3 separate regions of the Homo sapiens genome follow, and regions 1 and 3 are each linked to region 2. Evidence: promoter capture Hi-C in 16 types of primary human blood cells and fetal thymus (Javierre and others, 2016). All regions are on one chromosome and are shown on one strand. Each heading gives the region's core, a stretch centred on a gene start or on the middle of the fragment in contact. The rest is flanking DNA. Distances are from core to core; before and after follow the strand shown. Region 1 overlaps RYR1 (ryanodine receptor 1). Region 2 holds the start of LGALS7B (galectin 7B). Region 3 overlaps RYR1 (ryanodine receptor 1).

Region 1 (2,939 bases), core at 388-2,887, 340 kb after region 2:
GGTCTCGCTCTGTCAGTGAAGCTGGAGTATAGTGGCTCACTGCAGCCTCTGCCCCCTCGGCTCAAGCAATCCTCCTTCCTCAGCTTCCCATGCAGCTGGGACTACAGGCACGTGCCACCACACCTGGCCAATATTTTGTTATTTTTTTTATAGAGACAGGGTTTCACTATATTGCTCAGGCTGGTCTCGAACTCCTGGGCTCAAGCGATCTGCCCGCCTCAGCCTCTCAAAGTGCTAGGATTACAGGCATGAGCCACTGTGCCCAGCCTAATTTTTTTTTTTTTTTTTTTTTTTTTGGTAGAGGCGGGGTCTCCCTATGCTGCCCAGGCTGGTCTCAAGCTCCTGGGCCCAAGCGATCCTCATGCCTTGCCCTCCCAAAGTCTTGGGATTACAGGTGTGAGCCACTGCGCTTGGCCCATGTATATGTTAGACAAGGGTGTGGGCAACAGAGGTAGAGATGAAAGAGGCCAAGTGTATGGATGCCCGGAGCATGGGACAGCACAGGAGTCACCCCAGCAGGGAGGGCAGGTTGCTCACTTGATGAACTGGTTGTATAGGCCATTGGTGCTGTGGATCATGCGGGCGGCCTGGGACTCCTCCTGCTGGCAGCGGGTCAGCGACAGTGCGTCGTCCATGTGGCCCTCCTGGTGCAGCATGGCCTAGGAGTGGGGAGACAGAGGTCTGGAGTGGGCCCAGCCACCCAGGGCCATGCCCCCAAGACGTCTGTCTAGACTTGAGTTCTGCACTTGCCCCCTCCTCCCTGCTCTGCAGAATCTCACTGCAAATTCCTCCTCATTTTTCTGTCCCCCGTCATCTGTCTCCTCTGTGTCTTTGATTCTCTCTCTCCTCTCTGTCTCTCTCTGTCCCTGTTTTTGGTTTTGTCTGTCTTTGTCTCTCTATCTCTCTCACCTCTGTCCCTGCCTCTCCCTCTCTATCTCTCTATCCCTATCTCCTTCCTGTCTCTGTCTCCAGGCCAGACCCTTTCCACCTGTACCTACTGCTGACTTAACATTCCCCCCGACCAGAAAGCTCTAACCCCCAAATTGAACCTGTCCCAGATAGAATGCCAGACCACCTTTCCACGAGGTGAGACCATCATGGCTGCCAGCTTCACCCCAAGCCGACCTCCCCAGAACTCATCCAGTCTGCGGCTGTAAACACCATCCACCTGCTGATGATGCTCACGTGTCCCCACTTTGGACATGGCCCAGGCCCCGTCTCTACGCCCTTGGCTCATGTATTCAACTACAGGCCTGTTTTTGCAAACGAGTGCCTCCCCAAGGATTCCTACTTGTCCATTCAGCAAGGCTGTAGTAAGTGGCTCTGTTCTAGGCACTGGCAGTAAAGCCTAAGATCCCTGTCCTTCTGAGCCAACACTGACTGTCCCCTAACTTGGTTGATGGCACTGATACAAGAGGTAGAAAAAAATTATTTAGGCAGAGAGTAAGGGCAACAGAGTCCTCGGCAGAGTTTCCTTTCTAACGGAAAGCAGCCCCCAAAATAATTTCTTTTCTAACAAAGAGCAGCCTGGAAAATCGAGCTACAAGCTTGCATGGGGGAATGTGCCGATAGAAAAGGTATACCTGGGGCTACGCATGTCCAACATGGAGGCTCCATCTTCCCTTTATTTAGTTATTTATTTATTTATTGTTTCCACGTTGTACAGAAAAGGAATGGGCAACATGGCCAGCTCAGGCAGAGGACCCGCTTGTACAATAAAAGCTTAGGGTGGAGGCAGCCAGAAATTTGTGCCCTATGCAAATGGCACAACTGGTCCAACCAGTCTTTTGCACCCTAGGTAAATCAGATACCACCTCCCCACCAGCTCATCTGTAAAGCCCCCTGCATTTCACCATGGAACCCCCTGCATTTCAACCCATTTTTCTGGGACCCTTCTCTGCAGTAGAGAGCTCCTTCTTTCGCCTATTAAATGTCCCCTCTTAACCTCACTCTTTGTGTGTCTGCGTCCTTGTTCTCTGTGGCTGTGAGACCACAAACCTTGGGTGATACTCCAGACAATGAGGCTGTTTCAGCACTTCCATCCTTCCAGTTGCTTGGGGCAAAAAATCATGGCATCATCCTCAACCCCTCCCCTTCTCTCACCCCACAGCCAATCTGTCAGCAAATCCTGTTGGCTCTACCCTCAGGACCCCACCAGAATCTACTACTCTTCCCAACTCCACAGTCCCCTCCTGGTCCTGTCCACTGTCATCTCCCATTTGTAACATCATGGCAGTCTCTTCTCTGGTCTCCCTGCTCTGGCTCTGTCCCCTGACCGTAGTCTGTTCCCAGAGACAGCCTAAGAATTCTGTGATCCTGCGTCAGGTCACTTCCCTGCCCTGCTCAAAATCTCCTGTGAGCCCATCTCACTCAGGATAAAAACTAGAACCTGGCCAGGAGCAGTGGCTCACACTTCACTTTAATCTCAGCACTTTGGGAGGCTGAGGCAGGAGGATCACTTGAGCCCCAGGAGTTTGAGACCAGCCTGTGTAATATAATGAGACCTCGTCTCTACAAAAAACAAACAAACAAACAAAACTAGACCTCTCCCATGGCCCACAAGGCCTCACACGAGCTGTTCCCATCCCCTCTCTTTCCTCACCAACCACTACTCCAGCCTGCTCACCCTGTTCCACACTGTGGCTTCTTTCTGCTACTGCAACAAGCCAAGCTCATGTTAACCTCAGGACCTTTGCACATGCTGTTCCTGCTGCCAAAAATAGTTTTCCCACTCCTTAATTGTAAAACTATGTACTTCACTAAAGGCAGTTTGTTCACAATTTCTGAGCACTGGGAGGGCAGGGAACAGGTCGCTACAGCTCATCTATTTTCTGCACACACAACCAGAACAACGCGGGTACTCAGTAATTGTTTGTTGAAAGTTATTCTCAGTTGGTCATTATCCATCTTTTTCTCACTCTCTCTGTTTTTGTTTTTGT
Region 2 (2,819 bases), core at 75-2,574:
AGAAGGGAGGATCGCTTGGGCCCGGAAGTTAAAGACCAGCCTGGGCAACATAGCGAGACCCCACCTTACAAAAAAACGAAAGAACAAACAAAACATAAACCGCCCAGACCAAAGTGAAGGTCTTATGGGCTGGCACTCCCCATTCCCAGAGTACCCCCAAATTAACAGGGACCTGAAGACAGGCACACACCGCAGAAGGAGAGGTGGGCGACTAATGACCAGGGAGCTTAGATTCCCAAGGCAGCCAAAATATCATGAGGCCCTTGGCAGAAACCTACCCAGACCAAACTCACTACGCTTAGGGCAGGGTGCCCTCATTTCCAAAGAGCCTGGGAGCTGCCCAGGAGGTCTGGGTGATAGCCAGGGTGCTCCTGATGCTCAGGGAACCCTCAGCTTCTACAGGACAAAGAATAATACCAGGAACCCCAGTATTTCCAGGGTACCTCAGAATCCAGAAGGCCCGAAGTTCCTTAGCCAGGAAGTCAAAGGATGGCTTGGCAAGGACTCCCAGGGTCCAGGGTGTCTCCAGGACTTGGAGTATTTCCAGAGTTCCCTGGGACTCAGACATGGAAGTCATAGGACTATATCTAGGAACCCTGAGATTACCCAGGGACCTCAAATGCTTAGGGAAACTTAGGGACCCCAGCCACAAAGGCACGGGGGCAAATACGAATACATCAGATTTGAGGTCAGAAATGGCCTCGGACTCCTAGCCTGGTGGATACAGGTGGCCTCGGGCCCCTACTTCTGGACTGCAAAAATTGGGAGTCAGCTGATCCTGAGACCTGTACCCTTTACCCCTAGGGCCTGGGGCCTCACCTGCTGGCATTGGGAGGAACCAAGCCGCGAATTCTCAGCACCGTGCCAGGGCGGATGCCCTCGGGCAGTGAGGACTTGTGGGGGACGTTCTGCAAGAGTGGGGTGCAGGGGCCACTGTGAGCCGGTGAGACCGAAGGAGGGAGGCAGAAGGTGGGTCACCCCTCAGAGGAGCCGACCAGGGCTGAGACTGGCAGAAATCAGTGGAAGAGGAAAGGGTGGCGGAGAGGCAGGAAAGAGACCAGAAACAGACAGGGAAACAGATGGGGAGAGCAACAAAGACAAACAGAAAGATCCTCAAAGAGGGCCCCAGAGGAAGCCACAAAGAGGTAGAGGGGACAGTCGGGATGGGGGTTACCCGGAGGCCACAGCCCAGGCCAGTCCGTGGCACACTCACTGCCCACTTGCTCCTTTGAAAGAGGAGCCCCCAGCCCCCTCCCTGCTTGGCCCCGCCCCGGGCCCCTGGAGCACTCACGGACATGGCTGGGACCGGGTTGGGCAGCCGTGGTGGTGGGGCCTGCTGGGGACCTTAAATAAAAGCAGGGCGGGGCTGGCCCTGATGACTCACCCCACCCCTTCCCACCCACCACCCACACCTGGCACGGACCCTGGCCCTGGGGCAAGCCTGGCGAAGTGGGAGTGGCGCCTCTTCTTGGGGGCCCTGATCCCCCCATCACCCAGAGCCCGGGTGCACTGCCCCTCTCCTAGGAGCTGATAATAAGAGCCACCGCCCCTCCACCCCTGTCTTCCCACTGCCTGGCACACAGGAGAGTCTCTCATGCTCATTTTATCCACAGACATGTTGGGTCCTGAGAAGCCAAGCCCAGCGGGAACTCTAGACCCTTCTCTCCAGCTGAGAACCTCCTGCCTAGACTGGAAATGTCTGCGCTGAAATCCCTGCTTCTAAGTCTCCAGTGGAACAGCAGCCACAACAACGACGATAGTGCCAGACAGGGGGACTTCACAGGGTCGGAGGGCGGCCTGGTTGGCTCAGTGCTGCACCCCTGGGTCCTGGAGTGTGCCGGGTTCATGGGAAGTCCTCAGTCAGGAGGGGTGAAAGGAGGGGATCCACTAGGACTACGCTTGTCATTTCCCAGGCCCTTGGGCTGCCCAGGATATGCAGGAAATCACTGATTGGGACCCCACCATTCCAACAGAGAGAAGCATGGGTCACCCCCATTGTACAGAGAAGGAGGCTGAGGCTGGGATGGGAAGTGATTTTCCACAAGCCGGGCAGGACCCATTGCCCCAACCTCTGCCTTTCCTCACCTCTGGGCGTGCCTCTCCTGTGGGTTCTGTCTCTGGGGCTGGCTGTCTGGCTCTGTTTGTCTCTGTCTATAACTGTCTACCGCGTATTCCTGTCCCACTTCTCTCCTTCAAGTCTCTCTTGTTCCTCCTTCCAGGACTGTTACCATCTTCCCACCAATTTTGCAGGTCAGGATGAGGTGGGTTTTAGGGTGGTGGGTGGCCTAGCATTCCATCACCACCTAGATCAAAAGCAGAGCAAGGTGGGGACCCTCCCGCCAGCCCCAATATAGCCCGCTTGGGCCCAAGACTCTAGAAGAGAATCCAGGGTTGGGGAAGTAGACTGGGGGAGGCGGGGGGGGGGGGGGGGGCGGGCAGGACTGAAATCTGTTTCTGAAAGGCAGGGATGGTGTGGGAGCTGAACAGAAACCACTCCTGGCTGGGCATGGTAGCTCACGCCTGTAATCCCAGCACTTTGGGAGGCCAAGGTAGGTGGATCACTTGAGGTCAGGAGTTCAAGACCAGCCTGGCCAACATGGTGAAACCCCTTCTCTATAGAAAATACAAAAAATTGGCCAGGTGTGGTGGTGGACACCTGTAATCCCAGCTACCTGGGAGGCTGAGGCAGGAGAATTGCTTGAGCTGGGGAGGCGGACGTTGTAGTGAGCCGAGATCACACCACTGCACTGCAGCCTGGGCGACAGAGCTAGACTCTGTCTCAAAAAATAAAAATAAAGCCTGTAATCCCAGCACTTTGG
Region 3 (2,700 bases), core at 201-2,700, 260 kb after region 2:
AGGGGCCTTGGTGGAGGGTTCAGAGGATCTCAGGGGCTCATCTTGTTGGGGGGACTCTCAGGGTCTCAGCAGGTTTGGCATGGTCCGGTGGGGGGGCAGTGGGGTCCTGCAGTCCTCATGCGGGTCCCAGGGGTCCTAGAGCTTTTCTAGGTTTCAGTGAGGGCTCTTAGGTCTGTGGTGCCCTGGCAATATCTTGAACGGGGTCCTCAGGGCATCCCAGGGGCACAGTGAGTCCTCAGCATCCCGGAAAAGAACTCAGTGGGGTCTGAAGGGAAGGCTCCCAGGGACCTGGGGGGCTCAGTGGCATTGTGGTTGTTCCCTAAGGTCCCAGGGGTTCAGTGGGTGCTGGGCGGCATCCTGGAAGGTTCCGAGGACGGGGCTGGGCAGGCACCAGGGCGTAACGGGTCTTGGCCAGCGTGATGAGGTCTTGGTCGGTGGGCGCACACATATTCAGGCCGATGGGCAGCATCTTCTTCAGTGTGGCCACGATCAGTGACGTCTGCACAGAGTACCGGTCCCCCCGGCGCTTCTTCTTGGTGCGTTCCTGGTCCGAGCCACCGGACTGTGGGGACACAGGGCTCAGCACCAGCCCAAGCCCCAATCCCATGCCTCAGCCCCAACCCGCGGCCATCATCCACACCCCAGGCCCCAGTCTGGACACCAGGCACTCCCTCCCCAACTGCCGACGACACCTCAATTTCCACCCCAGACTTGCTGACTCTACACTTCAGGCCCACAGCCATGACCGGAGACCCTCCAGACCCAAGTCCACAACCCAAATTCCCAGTTTCTTGTTTTTTAAACAAATTTATTTTTAGAGATGGTGTCTTGCCATGTTGCCCAGGCTGGACTTGAACTCTTGGCTTCAAGTGATCCTCCTGCCTCAGCCTCCCAAGTAGCTGGGACTACAGGCACATACCACCATGCTTGCCTGGCTCCAATTTCTAACCCAGGCCCATCCAGATTTTCCCCCGTTCTGGGCCTGTCTCAACTTCTAGCAGTCCTCTTCCAGAATCCCCTAGGAACCCCAGTACAATACCCCCTCCACAGCATGCACAACCCCACACTTCACATCCCAAAACCAAGTTCTCAAGAATGAAACAAAGATGCAGGTCCACAAAGAGTTCAAGCGACAAGAGAAGTTGCAAGAAAAAGACACTGAGAGACTGAAAAAGACAAGGAGACAGGAAGACCAAAGATGCAAGAGACATCCAGAAAGATCTGGAAGCAGAGACACAGGGCACAGAGTCCCACAGCCGTGTTCTGGAGCCTTGGGTGCAGACCCGGGGCCAGGGCCACCCCAGTCACGCCAGCGAGAAGCCCTGATGACAAGCTTTTGGGCAGAGCCACATCCACGCCGGCTGGCAACTTTGAGCATGACCCCTGTGCCAGGCACTGCTGCAGGCCACACATGCAGCTTCTCCCTGAGTCCTCGCAGAGCCCTGGGGTGGGGGCTGCTGGCTGGATGCCCTCAGAGGCTCAAAAGGATGACCCCAACCAAGGTCACACGGCTAACTATCAAGACAGGATTCTAACCCCAGTCCATACAGTCCAGAGCCCAAGCTTTAAACCATCCACGGCGAGGGTGCTGCCCCCTCCCCAACCATGCTCCGTGTGCCTCTCCCACCCCCATTACCCTTGACCTCAGCCCACGATGCTTTGGTAAAAGCTGAGAGTTGCTCTTTTTTTCTTTTTTTTTTTTTTTTTGGGAACAAAAGTCCAGAAAAAAAAAAGGAAAGAAGAAAAAGAAAAGAAGTCAAATTGCCAAAAGCTGAGGGTTGGGATGGGAACGGATGGGGGTGGTGGGGAGGGAAGGGAAGGGAAGGAGGATGGGTGGGGGCTGGGAGGGGAGGACGGGGGTGGGGAACAGAAGCAGGGGTTTTCTCGAGGCGGGGGCGTGCAGAGGCTGGGGGAAGAGGGCATTAGCCAAGAGACATGCGGAAGGTCCCAGATGTGGGGCTGACCTGTATATCTCCCGCCTGCTTCACCGGACCGCAGACAGAGACAAGAAGGGTTACCCCAGCCCCGCAGAGAAGCCCAGGCCCAACTCCAAGTTGCCAGCACCCCACCTCCTCTGCCCCACCCGCCATGTATTCTCTAGCTGGGCATTTCCAGGCCTTGGCTCGGGGTGGGGGGTCGTTCTCTGAGACCTGAGAAGGGCAGTGCTGAGAAGGATAGGGAGGAAAGCAGGAAATGGGGTAATGGGGAGAGGAAGAAAGAAATGGAAGAGGGGGAAAATGGGGAGGAGGAGGAGGAGGGAAATGGGAGGAGAGAGAGGCTTGGAGAAGAGGAAAATGGAGAGGAGGGAAATGGGAGGAGGGAGAAGATACAGGAGGAGGAAGGAGACAGAGATGAGAGAAGAGGGAGATGGAGAGGAGGAGGGAGATGGGAGGAGGGAGAAGATACAGGAGGAGGAAGGAGCTGGGGAGGAAGGGAGAGGGAGAGGAGGTAAGAGGGGCTGCTCTGAGGACTGCAGGGATTGCGCCCAGGACGGGCTGGCTGGGTGAGGACAGGCCAGGTAGGAAGTCCTAGAGGGTGCTCCCGCCCTCTCTGCCAAGTGCTCCTCCCAGAACCAAGCCCCGACCTTAGCCATTTTGCTTTTGTTGTCAGCAGTCAGGAAGGACATGTTGTTGATCTCATTCTGGACCACAAAGTTCTGCTCCTCGCGCTTGAAGTTCTGGTGGGGGAAGCAGTGTTGCA

Evidence for each region. The method cuts DNA at HindIII sites, captures the fragments that hold promoters and counts their contacts. A CHiCAGO score of 5 or more calls a contact.
Region 1: a fragment that was not itself captured here is called in contact with the fragment with the promoter of LGALS7B in region 2 in 2 of 17 cell types (erythroblasts and activated CD4 T cells); the score reaches 6.3 in erythroblasts.
Region 3: a contact is called between a fragment that was not itself captured here and the fragment with the promoter of LGALS7B in region 2, in 1 of 17 cell types (non-activated CD4 T cells). The highest score is 6.1, in non-activated CD4 T cells.

The regions. Positions count from the first base shown.
Region 1 is chr19:38,449,484-38,452,422 of GRCh38, reverse strand. It overlaps RYR1 (ryanodine receptor 1), which reads right to left. Exons shown (of 106, transcript NM_000540.3): 12 at 538-659. Among named protein-coding and RNA genes, the nearest start is that of RYR1, 17 kb to the right of the region's middle. The HindIII fragment of the contact is 175 bases long and covers 1,550-1,724 here.
Region 2 is chr19:38,787,705-38,790,523 of GRCh38, reverse strand. It overlaps LGALS7B (galectin 7B), which reads right to left and starts at 1,324. Exons shown (of 4, transcript NM_001042507.4): 1 at 1,292-1,324; 2 at 820-908. The coding sequence starts at 1,297. The HindIII fragment of the contact is 12,505 bases long and covers 1-2,819 here.
Region 3 is chr19:38,523,194-38,525,893 of GRCh38, reverse strand. RYR1 (ryanodine receptor 1) reads right to left here. Exons shown (of 106, transcript NM_000540.3): 69 at 2,585-2,677; 70 at 1,965-1,979; 71 at 392-562. Among named protein-coding and RNA genes, the nearest start is that of MAP4K1-AS1, 72 kb to the left of the region's middle. The HindIII fragment of the contact is 230 bases long and covers 1,336-1,565 here.